2 separate regions of the Homo sapiens genome follow, and region 1 is linked to region 2. Evidence: promoter capture Hi-C in 16 types of primary human blood cells and fetal thymus (Javierre and others, 2016). All regions are on one chromosome and are shown on one strand. The core of a region is centred on a gene start or on the middle of the fragment in contact, and the rest is flanking DNA. Distances in the headings are between cores, read along the strand shown. Region 1 holds the start of SIKE1 (suppressor of IKBKE 1). Region 2 holds the start of MAGI3 (membrane associated guanylate kinase, WW and PDZ domain containing 3).

Evidence for each region. Contacts are between HindIII fragments. The CHiCAGO score rates a contact against its expected background, and 5 or more counts as called.
Region 1: a contact is called between the fragment with the promoter of SIKE1 here and the fragment with the promoter of MAGI3 in region 2, in 1 of 17 cell types (total B cells). The highest score is 5.5, in total B cells.

What each region holds. Positions count from the first base shown.
Region 1 is chr1:114,778,428-114,782,730 of GRCh38, forward strand. SIKE1 (suppressor of IKBKE 1) reads right to left here and starts at 2,258. Exons shown (of 5, transcript NM_025073.3): 1 at 2,022-2,258; 2 at 1,683-1,788; 3 at 715-857. The coding sequence starts at 2,180. RefSeq lists enhancers at 1,444-2,010, 2,011-2,576, 2,041-2,280, 2,521-2,640. The HindIII fragment of the contact is 3,666 bases long and covers 1-3,381 here.
Region 2 is chr1:113,388,263-113,393,134 of GRCh38, forward strand. It overlaps MAGI3 (membrane associated guanylate kinase, WW and PDZ domain containing 3), which reads left to right and starts at 2,253. Exons shown (of 21, transcript NM_001142782.2): 1 at 2,253-3,087. The coding sequence starts at 2,772. RefSeq lists silencers at 585-829, 1,819-1,868, 1,899-2,258, 2,669-2,798, 2,859-3,018 and enhancers at 2,699-3,198, 3,249-3,298. The HindIII fragment of the contact is 2,966 bases long and covers 781-3,746 here.

The DNA of each region.
Region 1 (4,303 bases), core at 1,008-3,507, 1.4 Mb after region 2:
AAATGTGAATTCATGCGCCTTACAAGCAAGGAGCTTAAGTTAAATGTATAAGTAATAACCAACCAAGTGTTTACCAGGCAGCTTCAACACTAACTGGCATTATGTTTGGTGGGAGCGCTAAGAATTAATGAACATTTTCAAAAGAGATCTTGGTGAGGGAGGGGGAACCTTAGTCCCACTCAAATAAAAGGATCTGAGCAGCCCCTATCCTCCTTCTTTCTATTCATATCTTTACAAAGCCATGGCAAAATAAACAACAAATGTGATAAACATGAAAGGAAAATGAGCTTACTTTTCTTCAAAAACAAGCACACATGGCCAGGCGCAGTGGTTCATGCCTATAATCCCAGCACTTTGGAAGGCTAACGTGGGTGGATCGCTTGAGCCCAGGAGTTTCAGACCAGCCTGGGCAACATGGCGAAATGTCATCTCTACCAAAAAACAAACAAACAAACAAACAAACAAACAACCCCACAAAAATTAACAGGGCGTGGTGGTGTGCACCTGTAGTCCCAGCTGCTCCGGAGGCAGAGGTGAGACGATGGCTTGAGCCCAGGAGGCAGAGGTTGCAGTGAGCCGAGATCGTGCCATTACACCACGGCCTGGTCGACAAGAGCCAGACCCTATCTCACAAAGCAAAAAAACAAGCACACAATCTAAAACAATCTCAAGATTTCAATTTGGTTCATTTCGAATTTATTCAAAGTTTCTTACTGCAGAGTGAGACTGGTGAGCTTTCAGGACTGGTTCAGCATCCACCGCTTTTTTAGCAACCATTAACTGTAACATCTGTTTCCGATATTTGCTCATGATAAGTTCCAAAGCATCCTGGTGTTCCTCCAAGGAAATCCATAGCTCTGTCAAAAAATAAAAGAACTTGGCAGTGATGTCTGAGAGACAGTTCCCAAATCCAAAGTCTTAACAGTTGGAATTTTGTAACACTATATAGATAATATGAATCTAAAGTTGTAAATCAATGTTTAAGTCCGCAAAACTGAACAGTTAAAGTCTATGTGAAAGGTAACTTTCTAGGCAGAGAAGCAAAGTCTTGCAGAAACAACAATGGATGTATCATCAGAAGACATGTGTTTGAGTTCAGTTCTGTAACTTGCTTGGTTAATACTCATAAGTAAATCATTTAGCTTCTTCTGAGCCTATTTCTTAACTGCATTGTGGTAGATAAAAATGAAGATATGAGAATACAGTAGAATGATATATGTGAAACCCCTCTGGTAAACAACTATTAATACCACAATCATTAATAATGTACTAATCAAGCCTAAGAATATATACCCTTAGAATAAAATTCTGCTGCTTCACCTTGCACAAACAAGAACATAAACAAAACCTTAAATCTTACCTTCAGTGTTTATATTAATACTTAAACATTAAATTTTAAGTCCATGAGGCTATGAACTCTTTTGTTACACATCTGAGGATGCTTAAAAATAAACCATGCAATAATACCAACTCTACACAGCACCTCTTTGGTAAGCTGCTGCAATATTAGTCAGATGACCTTGAAAAGGGTAATCTAACAAACTTTATTGTTACTGGGCCAGATCAGGAGGACTCTCCTACTAAAAGTACTGACCTGGAAATATATGTACACTTTTGTAAATGTTTAGGGCAATTTTGCAATAACTTTAAACTATTACCAGATATGAAAAGGCCTGACTAACCTCTGTTTTCCTGTTGCAAGTCTCTAATCTGTGTGTTCTCTTGGGACAGCAGAATGTGAGGTTTGTATTTGGACATGTCCTTCATATCGGATGCATCCTCTTGATACTGGACAAATAGAGACAGACTAAGCATGCCTTAAAGAGAACAGCGGCAGATGCAACTGAAGAGGCAGAAGTTAGGGCTCCAGGGCAGGATTCTCAGCCCCGACCCAGGAAAATGGTCTCACCGCCGCCCTCTGAGACCGGGAATAAATTCCAGGCCGAGTTCCCACTTTACCTCGCTCTCCACCCTTCAGTGCCCAGAATCCGAGAGCACTGGACTCCTACCCTCTGCCTGACCTGGTCCGGAAGCGCTGTCCCCGCCTCCCGCATAGCTGCTACCCGCCGGTGCAGCGCCGCCGACTGATCCACCAGCGACTCGGCGGCCGCATCGTGCTCCCGTAGCCTCTCCAGCAGCGTCTTGGCGTCTGTCAGGATCTTCTCGATGGTGCAGCTCATAGCAGCAGCACCACCCCAGCCCCTGCCGGGCTCAGCTACGCGACTCGCTCAGATCTTCTGGGAGTCTGTCTCAGCATTACAGGCGTCATTTCCGGGCACGTTTACAAGGTGTCTTGGTAGGCGCAATGGGCGCCTGCGCAGTGGCAGCCTATTTTGCGGGTTGACCCGCTTTAACCTGCGGCTTCCTTGCAGTCCTTCCTTGCGCGGAGCCCCAGACCTACACTTGCCACGCCGTTGGTTTCCAGTTACCACAGCCTGGTGGTCAGGCTATGATTAGCTGGGCAGTGGGAAGGTCTCCTTTCCCTACTGGTTTTCATTGATGTGGGTTGTTCTTCAGTCACAGTTAGTTTCTTTTTATTTTCATTATTTTTTTCTTTTTTGAGACGGAATCTTGCTCTTGTCCAGGCTGGAGTGCAGTGGCGCGATCTTGGCTCATTGCAACCTCTGCCTCCAGGGTTCAAGCGATTCTCCTGCCTCAGCCTCTCGAGTAGCTGGGATTACAGGCATGCGCCACCACGCCGGCTGATTTTTCTATTTTTAGTAGAAACGGGGTTTCACATGTTGGCCAGGCCGGTTTCGAACTCCTGACCTCAAGTGATCCGCCCGCCTCGGCCTCCCAAAGTGCTGGGATTACAGGTGTGAGCCCCCGCGCCTGGCCTACTTTCATTTAATTTTTTTTAAATTGTGGCAAAATACACATAAAATTTAATATCTCAGCCATTTATAAGTGTACAGTTCAGTTGTACATTCATATTGTTATACAGCCACCATCAGCATCCATCTCTAGAACTCTTTCATCTTGCAGTACTGAAGTTCTGTACTCATTAAACAATAATTCCTCATTCTTCCTTATCCCCAGCTCCTGGCAGCCACCATTCTACTTTGTGTCTCTACAAATCTGACTATTCTGGGTACCTGACATGAGTGAAATCATACAGCATTTGTATTTATATAACTGCCTTATTTCACTTAGTGTAATGTCCACGAGTTTCATCCATATAGTAGCATATGTTAGAATTTCCTTCCTTTTTAAGGCTGAATAATATATATATACCACGTTTTGTTTATCCATTCATCCGTGGATGGACAGTTGGGTTGCTTCCACCTTTTGCTATTGTCAATAATGCTGCTATTGCAACTGGCTCACGTCTGGCTGCTTGCTGCCTAGAGGCCAAAAACATGAGAAGTGACCTGTGGTGAAAGCTTTACTAATCAAATGCTCGCAGATGGGGAATGGCTAGGCTCATGCCTTCAAAACAGCATTCCACTTTTTTTTTTTTTTTGGTCAAGGTATCCCAGAGACAGTATCAGTGTCCAAACTTTAATTTTGTCCCATATCAATGCCAGGGTGGTGTGCTACCTGCCCTGAGTCCATCATGTCCCTCCTGCGGCCAACTGACTTAGAGTCAAAAGAGTTACAGCCAATTAAACGTTCTAGGTCAGATGGGAAGGAGGTGGGCAGGCACTCATTAACCTTAAAACCCCTCTTAAGCAATGTTAAGAGGCAAAAACCAAAAGGCAAGGGTTACAAAATTGACTTATCTATAAATTCTATGCATTGAGCTGCTGTAATCTTGGCTTGTTGCAATTAGCTATACAAAATGCAAGCATTTTGTTTAGCTGTTTTGGCATCTGTGTCATCCTTGATTTGTAGGGTCTGAACTAATTTTAGCTCTCAATACTGGCCCTTACAACATTACGTTATAGTCTCTAGGCATGGCGGGATTGAAGAGTTTCAACTTTTGTAGGTAAAACAAAACAGAAAGAATTAACAACATTTCAAACACAAAGGTCATAAACCCTGCCTAGTTTTGAGAATAACAGGAAAAGAAGTTCATAGGTAGCTAAACACTTAAATTATTTAGTATCAAGGCACAGAATAAATTATATTAATTCAGATAGAGGCAGAATTGTTAAATGAATCTTAATATTTTTGAACACAAGACTGTCCCTGTGTCTCATGAAAGCAGTTTACTTTGTCGCCTTTGCCTGAGTCTAACGATGAGGCTTTGGTTAATTGCAGTTTAGTGTCAGATACTGGCAGGAGTTGATGCCTTCTTTGGATGAGATATGTGTAAGTCCCTATAACTTAAAAGCACAAGGATTAGTTAATATCACCTGAT
Region 2 (4,872 bases), core at 1,003-3,502:
CACATGCATGTGATGGCAGAGAGCAAACACAAAAAAGAGCTTGGGTCCTTGATGACATGATTGTACTGCTCAACTAACCCTGAAACTATCTGCACTTGAAATTTATATTGAAGATATAGTAAATGACCTCATGCTTTAAGCTACTGCCAAATATTCTGTTCCTTGAGGCCAAAGGCATTCTAACAGATGCAATCTAGACACAGAAAGATGTTTTCCCAGAGTTCCTGCAAAAACAGATGATGTGTAGGTTATGGAGATTTTATCCAGGAATCCATTAGTATAGGTAGTAGTTTAGAAAAAAAATACTCCAAGCTTTGTCTCAGATATGGTTAAATCTGAGCCATCCACATGGTGTCTGTGCTGAATATTTTCCCCTCAGATGCACTGTTTCCTTTTCTGAAACTGACTGATATGAACTATATCAAAAGCCTCCCTTGCCCTCTGGCGTCTGGTTGGACTTGGCCATTGACAAGCACCAGCAGGAGACTGGAGGAGGGTGGTGAGTTAGATATAAATCCCCCAGGTCCTTTGCTGGGTGTTTACTTAGGCTGACTGCATCCGTTGACTGAAGGTCACAGACTCCTGTCAGGTGGCCCTGTGTGTCTGGATTTTTCGGTAACTGTTCTTTCCCGATTGGACAGATCTAGGAGCTGTAGCCTCAGGGTTCCAGCTTCTCTTGTGGTTTCCCACACCCTGCCCACATCTTTGCAAAATGCCATTTGTTTCCTGCCAGGACCCTGACTGATACAATGGTGTCAACGAAATCACTGCAGCTATTGAAGCTTGGTCCAGTCTATCTGAGGTGTGGAGTTTTATAAGGGCTTTCACCTACTATTAAAGGGAGACAGGAGACTACACAAATAAATGTCATGCTGCAAAAGTGAAACAAAGATCATAGCTCAGAGAAAACACTTTCCACTTGAGGGCAAGAAATCAGAGAAAGCTACCTGGAAGAGCCGGCATTTGGGATGAGGACGGATAGGAGTTTTAAAAGAGATGAGATGAAGGGCATTCCAAAGACAGGGAAGAGTGTAAGTCAAGCCGGGGAAGAGAGAAAGCTCAAGTGAAATTTCTGAAAAATTAGAGCTGGAAGGGATCTACGATATCTTTTATTTAATGTTCGTTCTCCCTTCACCTCCTTTAACTGAGATTTGGCCAAGGTCAAACAGCAAGTAAGTAGCATGTCAGGACTCCAACCAGATCTGCTGGCTACCAGGTTAGTTCTTAATAATCCACCTTCTACCTCCACCCCACTCCCTCACCTCAGGCAGTCTGCTTACTTCTCAGTCTCTCCCACTAGACTGTAACCTCCTCAATAGCGGGGCTTCTGTTTTCTTCACCCTTGAATCCCAGTACCTAGCACAATATCTAACACAAAATCGTCATCGTCATCAGCAGCAGCAGCAGCAGCTACCAAACTTTAAGAGGCAACCACCCACTGTCAGGCACTATGCAGTTATTTTGTACATCTTCTGTAATCTTCACTTTTCACTGAGGACGCTGCGGCTCAGAGAGGTTGTCTAATTTGTCTTAGGTCATACAGCAGTGCCGGACTCTATTTTATAATATCTTTCATCAACCGGACTCCGAAGCCCTGCCTCAATGGGCGTTCAGTAACATCTGTTGAATGAACGAATGAACAAGCAATATCCACTCAATGCAAACTATCGGCTGTAACAGGCCACCCTAAAGGCCCCGGAACCTCGGCCGGCTCAGGACTCCGCACGTTGTCTTCCAATCTAAGCACACCGGCCCCTCTCTGCGCCCCGCACAGGCTCAGAGGCTCCGCCCGCGTCTCCGCCTAACTCGCCGGCCACGCCCCCACTTCGGGGAGCTCGGTCCCTCTCGGATTCGAGTTTTCCTCGGCTCCAGCCGCCGCGCAGAGGGCCTCTCCCGGCCCTGCGACCTACAGCCCCTTCCACTCCCCTGCCCCTCCTCTGCGCCCTCCCTCACTCTCCAAACTTCTTTTTTCCACCCTCTCTAAACTTCAGTCATTCTAGTGCCCGCCTCCTCCACTCGCACCGACCAACCAGTGGTCCCCATTCTCGTTGGCGGTCCGCCTCCTGCCCGCCGGGGGCCAATCCCTGGCGCGAGAGTCCAGGGCCGGGGCTCGTTCCCAAGCGCCCAGCCTGTGACGGCAGCGCGCCGGGCGCCGCGCGGCGGGAGGGGGCGGGGCTCTGGATGAGGGATGGGCGAGGGCCGGGGGAAGGGAAAAGGGAGGAGGAGGAGGTTGCGGCTGGTTTGAAAGCGGCAGTTTCCTGGCAGCTTGGGCAGGCGTTGGTCTCCGCGCTACAGCTCCGCAGCGGCCACGATCGATCCCGCGACGGGTCTACGCGCGCTTCTGCGCGCCCCCCACGGATTTTTCCCGTTCCCGGCTCTTCCCCCTTCACCTCCCCGCCCCCCCGCCTCAGCCTTTCCCGCCGCTCGGGCGCTGAGCCCAGGGACCAGCCGGCGGCAGTGACCCCGCCCGAAGCCCCTTCTGGAACCTCCTGGGGACAATTCCCTTTTCCTTTCTTCAGCCTAACCCGCGGTGGCCCTCGCGGAGTCCGGTCAGCCCCGGGGAGCGCAGCCGGGAGGGGCGTCCAAGGGGCGTCTCGCGTCTGGGAACGGCCGGGCCCCCAGCGGGCTGTGGTCGCGGGGTGGGGGCCGGAGCGGCGAGGCCCCCCTTACCGGGCTGCGCGGGCCGCCCAGGGCCCCCGGGCTGAGACGGGGCCGGAGCGGCGCCCCGGCCGCCCGCGCGGGGTCTCCCCCATGGTGCAGCGGGGTTCGGGATGTCGAAGACGCTGAAGAAGAAGAAGCACTGGCTCAGCAAGGTGCAGGAGTGCGCCGTGTCCTGGGCCGGGCCCCCGGGCGACTTCGGCGCGGAGATCCGCGGTGGCGCGGAGCGTGGCGAGTTCCCCTACCTGGGGCGGCTCCGCGAGGAGCCCGGCGGGGGCACCTGCTGCGTCGTCTCGGGCAAGGCGCCCAGCCCAGGCGATGTGCTGCTGGAGGTAAACGGGACGCCTGTCAGCGGGCTCACCAACCGGGACACCCTGGCTGTCATCCGCCACTTCCGCGAGCCCATCCGTCTCAAGACTGTGAAACCAGGTACGCCGGCCCTGCGTATCTGTCTCGGGGTGTTGGGGAGAGGGGCTTCAGGGTGGGCGTCCTGGGAGCGGCGGCACCTCCCCACCGCGTATTGTCCCGGGTAATCTTAGACCTCTAGGGTGTGCCAGACTCCTTGACGAGGGGGAGGGGTGGCGTTGGTGAGTCCCATTTTGCCGAAGGGAAAACTGAGCTCTGGCTTGGCGCGGTTGCTCTGCTAGCTGTGCTAGCTGTCACAGAATTGCGACTAGAAGCTGGGTTTCCTACATTTGTAGCTCCATCTCCCCCCGCAGACAAGAGTTTTTGACTAGAGAAGGCCAGCCTTTTCCTGTGTTGTGCAAAAAGGCCCTTAGGATTGTAACATTTTCTTTGGAACGATCTTACGCATCTTCTAACAGGGAAAAAGGGACTTTACTATAGAGGCACTTGGTGCCAAGGTTACCACCTGGTGTACCTGGAAGGGCTTAGCTGCTTCAGTGTTTCTTGCACTCTAGCAGACATCTCAGAGCTGACAGCCTAACTCTGTCAGTCCAGGTGGTTCAGGTGTCTGAGTACCGATGACGGTACAATATGTGATATGTGGCAGACTGGTGTGTTCTTGCAGGGAGCTGTTGAATAGAGTCTGGGTTTTGCAGGAAGACCTAGGTGCCTAGCGGAGTGAAAGCTTCTGTAACGCTTTTGATTTTACAGAATTTTGTTGAAGTGGTAGGTTAAAGGAGCCTCTGTTGCCCTGGTATCTTTTATGCTAGTAAAAATTGCTGCAAAGCACGTTATGTTTATGGCATACTCGTCAGTTTCAAAGCATTGATCAGAGACAGCATACAGTGAGATCTGATAGTATGTAGTAGTTCTTATGAATTTGTTATAGACAGCATTGTTGGTTTTGTTTCAGCATAGATAGAATGTGGTTCTGTCGTCTTAGATGTTTGTGGGAGAGAGAATTGTGATTGTAACATTATTAGAAACCAAACTGTTTTTCCTTAATGTGCTCTGCTGAGTATACGGTGCATCAAAATATAATGGGCTGGTTAATTGTTACCTGGGCTAGGTAGCAGTCCATCCCTTGATGGCAAAATGCTAGAAAATTCTGGATAAAAATTTAATATGTTATCTCCTTCTCATTTCTTTCTCAGCAGCTCGCTTTGGAAATATTAATATATCTTTAATAGTCCTTGAGCTTAATGGGGCTTGATGGTTTGTGGTGCAGTTTACATATGTCTGTGTATTGTGGATATGTATACACACAGACTCACATGCTCCTAAGGTCATAATTAAGATTTTCTTTCTATAGCGTATTCCATCGTATTCATTTTAAGTGTATGGGTTTATGTGGTGAGGTTTTCTTTTTATTGTTGTTAATTTTTTAAAACTTTGGCAGACTTTAAACAGCTTTTTCTGTATAGTTTTGAGAATTTGTAAATTTTTTTCTTAACTCTAACTTTTACAGCCATGTGTGAAAGGCAGAGGAAAGACTTTTGGGGCTGTAATTCAGCTAGTCAGGCACTGTCTGTAATATGCAAAAGGCTATATAGACAGCATTTACTAGTCTAGCTGCCAAATCTTAGTTCAAATCCCATGAGTTAGTGAATAGTGAGAACATCTGCATCATTTCTTTGTGTTTTGTTTTGATTCGTTAGGGCATAGATGAGAATATAACTTATTTTTAGAAATTTTAAAGTTGATATATTGACATGGAAGCTGGTGTATTCTAAATTATTGTGATCTTTTTTAGAAGACTGAAGAGATGGCTATTTCATAACATTAGTCTAATCTACCTGTTATACATTT